Regions from separate parts of the Homo sapiens genome. Here region 1 is linked to region 2. The links are contacts of gene promoters, found by promoter capture Hi-C in blood cells and fetal thymus (Javierre and others, 2016). All regions are on one chromosome and are shown on one strand. The core of a region is centred on a gene start or on the middle of the fragment in contact, and the rest is flanking DNA. Distances in the headings are between cores, read along the strand shown.

Evidence for each region. Contacts are between HindIII fragments. The CHiCAGO score rates a contact against its expected background, and 5 or more counts as called.
Region 1: a fragment that was not itself captured here is called in contact with the fragment with the promoter of LINC02724 in region 2 in 1 of 17 cell types (M1 macrophages); the score reaches 5.6 in M1 macrophages.

What each region holds. Positions count from the first base shown.
Region 1 is chr11:64,762,018-64,767,555 of GRCh38, reverse strand. SF1 (splicing factor 1) reads left to right here. Exons shown (of 13, transcript NM_004630.4): 11 at 305-364; 12 at 477-656; 13 at 1,401-2,950. The coding sequence ends at 1,738. Among named protein-coding and RNA genes, the nearest start is that of PYGM, 4.8 kb to the right of the region's middle. RefSeq lists enhancers at 73-946, 947-1,819, 1,820-2,694, 3,619-3,668, 3,719-3,818 and 4 more. The HindIII fragment of the contact is 4,830 bases long and covers 1-4,044 here.
Region 2 is chr11:64,444,462-64,450,639 of GRCh38, reverse strand. LINC02724 (long intergenic non-protein coding RNA 2724) reads right to left here and starts at 1,583. Exons shown (of 2, transcript NR_073177.1): 1 at 988-1,583; 2 at 1-743. RefSeq lists a silencer at 863-1,058, a cis regulatory region at 836-1,105 and an enhancer at 995-1,244. The HindIII fragment of the contact is 9,068 bases long and covers 1,436-6,178 here.

The sequences.
Region 1 (5,538 bases), core at 380-2,879, 320 kb before region 2:
ACCAGAAACCTTGGGGGCTTTGGGATAAGCAAGGGGTTACGTCAGGTCGCTGTTGGCTAGAAGCAGCTCTCAAGTGGCTGGGCAATGTGCTGGGTCTGCCTGGCTTGCCAGGGTTGTGGCTCTGGAAGGAGCAAGACTCCATTCTGGTTCAGGGAGTGATTCTGTGTTGGGTAAGCACAGACCTGCCTTTTACAGGCATGGTTTTCAGAACTCGCGTAAGGATAGCAACTGAGGTTATCACAGGGGTGGCTTCCCTGGCCAGTTCCAATGTCCTGCTAAGTCCCTGCTCTTTCCTTCCATCAAGATCAGTACCTGGGAAGTACGCCTGTGGGCTCTGGGGTCTATCGCCTGCATCAAGGAAAAGGTAATGGCTGTCTGCTGGCTGTGGGTCTTCACCTAGGCTTGGGTGAGTGGGGGTTCTGGCCCAAGTCCCCGCCTTTCCCTGAGGCCTCATCTTTGCCTCCACCTGTCCACAGGTATGATGCCGCCACCACCTATGGGCATGATGCCGCCGCCGCCGCCGCCTCCCAGTGGGCAGCCCCCACCCCCTCCCTCTGGTCCTCTTCCCCCATGGCAACAACAGCAGCAGCAGCCTCCGCCACCCCCTCCGCCCAGCAGCAGTATGGCTTCCAGTACCCCCTTGCCATGGCAGCAAAGTGAGTAGAATATTTTGGGCTTGTGGGGGTGGGTGGGATGGGGGTGGGGCTGACAGGAACCATAGAGCCTCACACAAGCAGGCAGGTGTCTTGGGATGAGCCCCTGGGCTCTGCTGGGGTTGTAAACAGAAAGGGCCTCCTGGTCCAGGGGGTGGAGGGGCATCTTGAAGAGGAGAGCTGATGTTTGGTGTGGTTGTGTCTGGGGAGAGGTTCGTGGGGGCCTGGAGGGGAGCCTGCTATTGTAGGTAGGGGGCCAGAAGTCCAGACCCTCGCAGGCTGAGTGAGCGGCTGGCTGGACTGAGCCTGGTGCATATGGGTCGAGTGGGATGGTGCATGCTTGCTCTGGCAAGGGCTGCGATTGGGGTGAGAGACTGCAGAGGTGGGACTGGGCAGTGGGGAGACAGCAGCTGTGGCCTTGAGGTTGAATGTGCCGTTCGGTGGTGGCGGCGGCTGGGCGGAGGGACATCAGAGCTGTTCTTGTGTCTGGTACCTTCCCCTCAGCCCTTCCAGGGGCATTGGTGACAAAGGGCTTACTCTGTTAAGCCCAGAGACCTCGAGGCTGACCCCAGGGTAGTCCTGCCCACCCCTCCACTCCCCATCACCAGCCCCGCCCACCCGCCCCCCACCACCGTACCGCATGCCAAGCAAGGAGCAGGCGCCCCTCGCCCCCATCCCAAGGCAGCAGCCGCAGACAGCCGCGGTGTGCCCCCGCGCGTGTGACCTTGGGCTTCTTTACCACCCCAGATACGACGACTACCACCACGAGCGCTGGCACAGGGTCCATCCCGCCATGGCAACAGCAGCAGGCGGCTGCCGCAGCTTCTCCAGGAGCCCCTCAGATGCAAGGCAACCCCACTATGGTGCCCCTGCCCCCCGGGGTCCAGCCGCCTCTGCCGCCTGGGGCCCCTCCCCCTCCGCCGCCTCCACCGCCTGGTTCCGCCGGCATGATGTATGCCCCGCCCCCTCCTCCTCCGCCTCCCATGGACCCTTCTAACTTTGTCACCATGATGGGCATGGGGGTGGCGGGCATGCCGCCCTTCGGGATGCCTCCAGCTCCCCCACCGCCTCCACCACAGAACTAGACTTGTTTTTTAAGAAAATATATATTATATATAGAGAGAATTGGTCTCGTTTAAACACGCCGAACCTCACCATATGGAGCCAGACATTGGGACGCACGCATGTGATTGTGTGTGCACGCATGTGTGTGTGTGCACGCACTGGGCTGGGCCAAGCGACTGAGGATTCGCTTGGGAACGGGCAGGTGGTAGTAGGGGCGCCAGCTTGGGCTCTCCTGGCGCCCCGTAGCATCGAGTGTCTTCTTTGTCTTCTTTCTCTCCTCACCCAACTCCCTTTGCCTCTCCCCAAACCGGGCCGCCAGGATCCCTCCCCGCGGCGGCGATGGCCCGAGCCATGAGAGTGAGGACTTTCCGCGCCCATTGGTGACCCTTCCAGGCAGACAGCCTCAGCAACGCCCCTGGTGGACAGGATGGTTCGGCAAAGCAGCCTGAGTTATTTTTGTGGACGGAATCGGAACACGCTGGCTCCATATCGTGAAATTTTTATTAATTTTTTTCTTTTTCCTTTGTTACTTCTTTATCTTTTCCTTTCTTCAGACTCCGTCCAAGGAGATGCTCTCCCCGGTCTTCTGCTGCAATTTAGATTCCTTTCCCTTCTCTCCAGTTCTCCTTCCCTTACCAAGGAGAGGGGAGCAAATGGTTTTGGGCAAGGGCTTTGGCCATTCATGTCAAGCTGGTTGTGGGTTTTTCAAGGTGCCATAGCCACCCCCAAAGATGTTTGTTTAAAGCGTGGGGTTTTTTAATCTCTGCCACCCTTGTCAAGGGAGTCTTGTAAAGTTGCCGAGGGTAGGTTCATCTCCAGGTTTCGGGATTCCCATCCGTCCTGGCGATCCTGCCAGCAGTGGGTGGGCAGCCTGAGCTCCCTCGGGCTCGCCTGCCAGCCTGGAGTTCTTCCTGTGCTCCTTGATCACCTGAGCTGCCTCAGATTCCATTTGGTCCTCTCCTTCCTGGAAGGCTTCCTTTTATGTTTTGTTTTAATCCCAAATGTCTGAATGTTTTGCAGTGTGTAGGGGTTTGAGCCCCTTGTTCATTCTCCTTCCTTTTTCCTCCCGCTTCCCTCTCCATGAAGTGATTCTGTTGACAATAATGTATACTGCGCGTTCTCTTCACTGGTTTATCTGCAGAAATTTCTCTGGGCTTTTTTCGGTGTTAGATTCAACACTGCGCTAAAGCGGGGATGTTCCATTGAATAAAAGAGCAGTGTGGTTTTCTGGGTCTGCTTCTTTATTTTCTTTTTAATGCCTGCCCCGCCCGGTTTTTCTTTTCACATAAACTTCCTCTACCACCAGCAGCAGCAGCAGCACCAAAGGTGCCTTAACTTTCGTTCAGCACCAGGTCCGGGGGGGTGAGACTGTGGGTGGTTAATTAGGGAAGCCCACCACCTGCCTCCTGTGTGTGGCTTTGGTGGTGGGAGCTCAGTGTGTGGGTGGCTCCACAGTCTCCCCTTTGGTGACTAGTTAACATCGCTGAGAACCAATTTTGCCCCTCCTTGTTCACTGCTCATTTTTCTAGTCTCTGTCCTTTGAAGGCTTTTTCCTGGGGCTCAGACGTCCACGTTTGATGAGCTCCAGTGGTGATTTGTGCCTGGAAGCTGCCACCTAAGGCCCTGGGCCTGGGGAGGCATCAACACTAAAGGTCAAGCCAACTAATCCTGCCTGTCAGGCACAGAGCAGCTAAAATTAAAACCGCCAAGTGGCTTTTTTCCTTCTCTGCTGGTGACTTGCAGCCTGCCAGCGCTGTAGGCTTTGGCGGGGGTCGGGGGGACAGGATAAAGTGCCCCATCTTGTGCTTTGCAAGCACTTTTCAAAGGGTCTTCTGCTTTTTTTCCATGTCTTGGGCGGCGAGTGGGTAGTTACTGTTAGGGTTCCAGAAAAATCCATGTGGAGTCTCCACCAGGTAGTGAGGTCCTCTCCTGGGCAGAGGTGCCTTAGAGCTGCCCTGGTTCCACCTGCCTCTCCTTCCTTCAGGGCGGCTGAGGGACAGTAGGCTCCCCCAGCATCTGGCTGCTGGGGCCAGCAACTGGCCTGGGCTGCTTTCCAGCTGTGAGCTAGGGCTGGCTACTGCTGTTTACTGGGGTGTCTGGTCCCCCGTCCAGGAGGCCTGTGCTTTGCTATGGGTCTGCCAGGCTTGAGGAGCCCTCAGAAGCAAGGCAGGCTCAGTGCGTTTCCCCAGCCAAGCCCTAAACTTCGGCTCACCAAAAGGAGGACATCTTTTTTGCCTTTGTCCTTAAGTGGCAGAATGGGGGCAGGGCCTGGGGCCTGGCTACCCTCTTTGACCTTGGCTTCACCTCATTGCTTCTCCCACAAGCTTGGTTTCCCTGGTGGGCTCATTGGGTGGTTAATTAGCTCTTTGAAGCTCTGGAAGCGGCAAAGTGGCGCTATGTGGGTTTTAGAAATAAAATCAATAAATGACTTAACCACAGCTTAGCTATCTCCTCCGCTTCTCTCCCCCAGGCCAGCTCCATTCCTGTGCTCCCTCCCTTTCTGCTCCCTGCCGTCAGCTTTTGTTAAGGTTTTGGAGAGGAAGTGGCTGACTAAGGCATCAGTCTCCAAGGTGCTAGAGGCCCTGAAATGGAAGAGACAGCAGGAAGGCTTGGCCCTCTGAACCGTGGCAAGCACTTGCCTCTGGCAGAATCAGAGAGAGAAAGGCCTGCCCACCTGTCTTAAGACACCTGGGGTGGGAAAGCAAGCCATTTACTCCATCACATTGTGACAGGGCTGTGCTTGCCCCACCCCCTCTCCTCACGTTCATTTCTGCTGCTGTAGCAGCACTGTCCCCGTCCCTCAAGGCCTGGCAAGGCCTGGCAAGAGGAATGCCAGTGGGGAAAGGTCAGCCTCAGGGCTCTGTTACTGAGGTTCAGCCAAGGGCTCTGGAGAAACCCAGGATTGGTCCAAGGAAGGAGGCCGGGTTTCTAGTTAGAAACTTAGACATAAATAACCTCGAGTGAGTTCAGGTTGTAAAAGTGCTTCAGGGTTCATTAAACCTGCATACACAACACCAAGGAGGGGCGGAGGAAGCAGGGAAACAGATGAGATCGTGCTGCCCAGGTGTGATCATGCTGGGCTGGGGCATGCAGTGTCACCCCGGGACAAAGCCTGGAAACAGTGGGGAGTGATGGCATGACAAAGACGGAAAGAAGCCACAGAAAAGGTAGTTGGAGAAAGTTAAAAATTTCCCAGTAAAAATGTTCCTGAGAGCAAGCGCCCTGGGTGCAAGAGGGGAGAGTAGCTGGGAAAGGATGGAATGAACTTGGCCTTCCCTGCCTGTAAGATGTGGATGGTCTATGGGGATCGGGTCCTCAGTGGCAGGAACATAAAGTCTTGCAGGAAATAGGGGTCAATGCAAAGAAGGTGTGTGTGGCCAAAGCAGGCTGCCACGATTGGGCTGTGAGGTGACGGCATGGTTAACAAGCTACTGCCTGCCTGGCAGTGGACTGCCAAGAAGTCTCAGCTCTACTCACAGCAACCCTCCAAGGGACAAGTGCGGGCTGTGAAGAACCTTGGATGCCAGGCCAAGCTGGAGTCCAAGCTGTGCTTAGTGGAGGATGGGGATGAGGCCCAGGAGCTGAGGCTGGGGTGCAAACTGTGAAAGGGGAAGAGACCAGACAGCTGCCAGCATTGTTTTTTTGTTTGTTTTTGAGACAGAGTCTCGCTGTGTCGCCCAGGCTGGTGTGCAGTGGCGTGATCTCGGCTCACTGCAACCTCTGCCTCCCGGGCTCAAGTGATTCTCCTGCCTCAGCCTCCCGAGTAGCTAGGATTACAGGCATGTGCCACCATGCTTGGCTAATATTTGTATTTTTAGTA
Region 2 (6,178 bases), core at 334-2,833:
GCTGAGATATGATCCAGCTTTGAGCCTGGTGGTCAGGAGGGGAGGTGGGGACAGATGCTGGAGAGAGGAACTCCTTATCTTGTAAGGTCCCTTCCCTTAGTTTCTGCATGGTCTTTAAGCAAAAGAGGACCTCTGTCTTCCAACAGAGGCAATGGGTCACTTCTGCAGGCCAGGAGGTACAGGAGAATCTGGGGGTTCAATGTCTCAAGAGTGTCTCCTCAGATAGTCCATCTCAGATATCAGGGACCCCACCCTTCCCTTTGGGGCCCTGACTTTGGAGAAGGGACTTCCCTGGGCTGGAAATTTGGCCTTCTCTGGAGTCCTGCACCTTGTCTTCTGCCCTCTGACCCCTGGCTATAGAAGAGAAGCATTTCGTTAAATTCTGCCAAGGAATCCTGACTTTGCTTTAAATTGGTGATGCGTGGCCCTGAACTTGTCATTTTCCCTCTTCTAAGTGTCAGTAGTATTCAGTGACAGCCTCCCCACTCCACGTCCTTCTCACGGCTATTTTCCCATCTGTCTCTCAACATCAGTGATATTAAACGAGCCGGGCATCCCCGTCCACCTGAGTCCTGTCCCAGGTGACCACAGGCGGAGGCCTGAGCAGCTGCTCTGCCACCTCGTGCCAGGGGCCTCCGCAACGGGCTCCAGTCACCAGGGGCCAGCGGGGCATCCTCCTGCAGCATCCCGTCCTTGGGGCCAGCTTCCTGGGGCCCCTCCTGCTGTTCCCTGCCTTCAGCTGTCTGAAAACAGAGCCCAAGACAGGGATTTACTAGGGGAGGGCTCATCCTGGGACAAGCCGCCCAGGATGTGAGGGCAGAGGGGCGGGGAAGGAGAAAGGACTCGGTAAAGGCGTGGTCCCAGGGTAAATACAGCTCTGGCAGATATGCAGGGGGCCCTGGGGCAGAGGTATCGCCATCTAGAGGCAGGCGAGGGAACAGTCTTTTGTACAGTTAGCCGTGGGCTGTGGGCGTCGCCTGAACGTACCAGGTATTGTGGCTCCATTGGCTGAGGATGCTTCTCCAGCGAAGGAGGCAGGGAGCCGGGGAAGTGGGGTGGGGTCGCGACACCGACAGCAGCTGCCAGACCAGCCATGCTGCGCTCAGCTCCCTCAGGCTGTCACTCTTAATCATCATGTCACTATCTCTGGGGCGTGTCAGTCACCATCAACGACGTGTCCCCCAAGCTGCAGAGGACGCAAATCCAGCTCTCCAAGAGGCTCTGTTGGCCCTCTCCACATGGGCTTGAGGTCAGGGGTGGGGGCACGTTCGGACCGCCCTCCTGCCTCTCTGAAGAAGATCCTCCAAGTCCCGGCTCCAGCTCTCCGGCCTCTTTGGCAGCTGGGCGGGTGGCCATCCAGGAGGCCCGTTCTCCATGCCCAGTTTGGCAAGGCTCCTTGGGACGCCGGGCTCGCTGCCCCTGTTTTCTTAAAGCTTCGGCCCAAAGGGACCCAGAGTCTGAGGTTAACACTCCGTCATCCCAGCGTGAGCGGCGCCTGACTCCAGCTCTCGACTCCCCCACCTCCTATCCCCTGCGCCGGGCTCACCCTGCACTCCCACCTGCAAATCAGCAGAGCAGAGGCCAGCGCTCCCGACGTCCAGCACCACCCCAAGCGAGGCAGGGGGAGCTGAGTGGCCGGGAGCGCCATCTAGTGGGTGCCAGGGGCGAGTCCCCGAAAGAGACTGGAGAGCCACGACTCGGGCAGGGCAGGATGGTGTCCCAGGGAGGGCCGGGGCCCAGGCGCTGGACAGCAGAGGACATAAAGGGAGAGGCATGGGAGAGCGAGGAGCCAGGGTGCTTCCGGGGCGCATGAGCCCCACCCCAGCCTGCCCCTGCCCTCGTAACCAGATGACTCGGCTCAGGCAGGACACACCACGTCCAGTCTCTGTCCCCTCTCCAGACTCTTGGGAAAGTGTCACTTAAAATCCATTTGGGTCTGGTGTTTGCTTTATTCCAAGGAAAGGGGTAAGGAAAAATTCAGAAAAGGGGCGAGGGTCTCCCCTCTCCACAGTGGCAGTCAGGGGAATAGTGACATTCACCCCCTCCCCCAACCTGGTCTTGAACGTGGCAGGGAAGAGAACTGAGCCACCTGTCACCCAGAGGGGGAGGGGGAAGGTCAGAACTCCAGCCTTCCCACAGCAGACACGCCTGCGGGGCAGGAAGCAGGCAGGCTCCACGCAGTGTAGACATGTGCACTCACACGGATGTTAACAGTCTGGAAGAAACTGACCTGGCTGTGAATAGAGGCTCTCTCATGGGGAAGGGGCAGAAGATGGAGCTTTCACTTCTCCATTTATACACTTCTCCAAAATGTGGTGGGACCATGAGGAAACTGCACTTTCAGTTTTGATCTCTTTTTGTATTTTTTCAGTTAAAATGCAATTGGGAACAATGGGGTGTTAAGTGCCTCAGTGTGGAAGGCTGCGGCATCACCATTGAAATGCTGTATCAGACCTGGATTGGATCCACCCTCGACTCAGGGCTGTGCAAACTGGGACCCAGATCCCGCGCTGTGGGAACGGAGCCCTGCTCCGCTGTTTACATGTTGTCTCTGGCTGCGGCCTCGCTGTGACAGCAGAGTTGAGGAATTGCCACAGAGACTGTTATAGCCCACAAAGCCCAAAATATTTACTCGCTGGCTCTTTATGGAAAAAGTTTGCCAACTATCAAATTACAAGAAATACAGGGACTGGGGAGCCTGCTCAACAAAGCTAAGGGGACGTGACCAGCAAAATCCAGACTGCAGGCAACCATAGGACAAAGCGCCAGTTTCTTCAATACGTAATTTGCAACAGCAACCTGCTTACTAGAGGCCAGGAAGGGGAGGGGGAAAGGAGGGGATGAAGAAAGGTTGATGAGTGGGTACAAATACACACTTACATAGACGAAATAACATCTGGTGTTCAATAGATCAGTAGGGTGACATTAATCGATTGTACACTTCAAAATTGCTAGAAAAGAATAATCCTAATGTTCCTGGCACAAGGAAAAGATAAATATTTAAGATGATGGACATCCCAATTACCCTGATTTGATTATAGGAATGTATCCAATTATCATGCACATCCCGAAACTAGATACAGCTAGTGTATTTCAACTTTTATAAAGAAAAGAAAAAAACGGGCGGGGTGCAGTGGCTCGCGCCTGTAATCCCAGCATTTTGGGAGGCTGAGGTGGGCAGATCACTTGAGGTCAGGAGTTCCAGACCTGCCTGGCCAACATGGTGAAACCCCTTCTGTACTAAAAATACAAAAATTAGCCAGATGTGGTGGTGTGCACCTGTAATCCCAGCTGCTCCGGAGGCTGAGGCAGGAGAATCGCTTGAACCCGGGAGGCAGAGGTTGCAGTGAGCAAGACTCCATCTGAAAAGAAAAGAAAAGAAATGAAAAGAAAAGACAGAGGGGGCCCATAGATTTAAAAGAGGCTGAGCAGTGACAGATAATAGAAGTGTGGATGGTAAGAAAATAAAGTCTCATTTTTCATGGTAGCAAGTGAGATCTCAAATCCGAGATCAGAAAGTGAAGAAAATCAGGAATTAAGAGTAGAAGCCATTTCACTTAGAAATGAAGGTTTAAGAAAAAGATGAGGCCGGGCGCAGTGGCTCACGCCTGTTATCCCAGCACTTTGGGAGGCCGGGGCAGGTGGATCACCTGAGGTTGGGAATTCAAGACCAGTCTGACCAACATGGTGAAATTCCATCTCTACTAAAAATACAAAAATTAGCCGGGCGTGGTGGTGTATGCCTGTAGTCCCAGCTACTCAGGAGGCTGAGGCAGGAGAATCACCTGAACTCGGCAGGCGGAGGTTGCAGTGAGCCAAGATCGCACCATTGCACTCCATCCTGGGCAACAAAAGCAAAACTCCATCTCGAAAAAAAAAAGAAGAAAGAAAGAAAAAGATGAAACATCTACTCAAAAACTGAAAGTGGGTGCCCCTAATGAGGGAGTTTTGGGAATCAGAGAAATGGAGCAGAGAACTCTTTTTTATTTATATAATTTTAAGCCTAGTAGTAGTGTTTGAATTTTTTAATTTTGTATACGTTTAAACAAAATATTTAAATATTAATATTTGAATCCAATAACAACTTAAGTTTTTTAACTTAATTAAATATATTTATAATCTTGGATTAAGGAAAGCCTTTTTAAACATGACCTGAGGCTGGGTACTTTGGAAGGCCAAGGTGGGCGGATCACTTGAGGTCATAAGTCGAGACCAGCCTGGCCAACCAACGTGGTGAAACCCCATCTCTATTAAAAATACAAAAATTAGCCAGATGTAGTGGTGGTCGTCTGTAATCCCACCTACTCAGGAGGCTGAGGCAGGAGAATCACTTCAACCCAGGAGGCAGTGAGCTGTGATTGTACCACTGCACTCCAGCCTAGGCGAAAAAGCAAGACTCTGTCTCAAAATAAATAAATAAATAAAAATAAATAAATAAACCTGACCTGAAAACCAGAAACTAAATGGTTGATCTATGCGGCTGCATGAGAATCTCAAACTTCTCTCTGAGAAAGCTATTATATATTATATATATAATATATATAACTATACAACTATACACACACACACACACACACACACACACACATATATATATATGTATGGTTGAAAGACTACTGACAACTGGAAAAAAGATTTGTAACAGATAATACAGATGGAGGGTTAATATGATAGTTTTTTCTCGCAAGCAACAGAAACTGACCTTAGCTGATTTAAGCAGAAAAGGGATGAGTATCAAGTACCACCACAGACTTTCTGGGTGGGCTGGAGAACCAGGCTTGCAGGCCTCCCAGACAGGAACAGAAACTGTGCTCCAGCTGGTCAAGTAAAGACACCATGGCTACCTTTTTACTGGGTCCTGCGCACTGCCACGGATCAGCTGCCATTGCTTTCACTCTCTCTGGAATCAAGTCTGCACGGCTTCTGCTACCTCTGGCCATTAGCTTTTAATCCCATTCCTGAGGCAAGAGCCTCTGAATGACAGATCCTCAATCATAAGCCTGCAGCCTGCAAGGGAGGCTGGGAAAGTGGGCCCCTGGCGTCTTCTGCTTCCATAGCAGAAGTCAATGGATACCCCAAACATGGCAGACAAACAGGCAAAGGACATGAAGAGGCAATTGACAAAACAAGTGTGGAATTAGCCAATAATATATAAAAAGCTGTTCAGCCTCACTAATATGGCAGCTGCTTGTGGTTGCTTACCCGGAATCAGTTCCCACCTTCTTCCTGCTGGCAAACCTTGATATGGTTTGGATACCAATCCCACCCACCAGTGACTCAGTGGGGAGCATGCACCCAGTTGCCATCAATGAGCTGGCTAGGCAGGTCTGCCAGGGGGCTTCCAGGAAAGACTTCTGTATTAGTCAGCATAGGTTAGCTGCCGTAACAAGCATGCTCCAAACCTGTAGTTTAACACAAGTTTATCTCTTGCTCATGCAAGTTGAATATGAATGTCCTTGGTTGGGTGCTTCTCCCATGCAGTTCTCTGGCATTGCAGTGACTTTGAAACCTGAGATCCCTCCATCGTGGAGCCCTGCCATCCTCAACATGTGGCCTTCCAGATCACAGCACATAGGAATGCCACGGAAGGAGCACATGTTCCTTCTGCCCACATTTGATTGGCTAGAACAGGTCACATGGCCACAGGGACCTAGCCAGCTGCAGGAGAAGCTGGGAACTGTAGTTTGTGTGTCAGGAAGAAAATGAACCAGATTTAGCCAGGCAAGGTGGCTCACACCTGTAATCCCAACATTGTGGGTGACTGAGACAGGAGGATCACTTGAACCCAGGGGTTCAAGACCAGCTTGGGAAACACAGCAAGACCCCATCTCTATTAAAAAAAAAAATCAAAAGATTAGCCAGGCATGATGGAGTGCACCTGTAGTCCCAGCCACTCAGGTGGCAGAGGCAGCATCCAGCTTCATCTGCTGGGTTAAGCCATGCAGTCCTGGAGCCCACGGTTGTGGCAGCTGCATTCTGACCCCTGCGTCCAGCAGGGATGGTGTGGCCCTGGGCCAGCCTCTGGGACGGTGGTGGGCTGAGTCCCCAGGTTCCCGGCTGTGCCAGAAATAGCGATTCCCTTTCAAGCCCAGCTGAGGTGGGAGGATGGCTTGAGCCCAGGAGGTCGAGGCCGTAGTGAACCAAGATCATGCCACTGCACTCCAGCCTAGGCGACAGA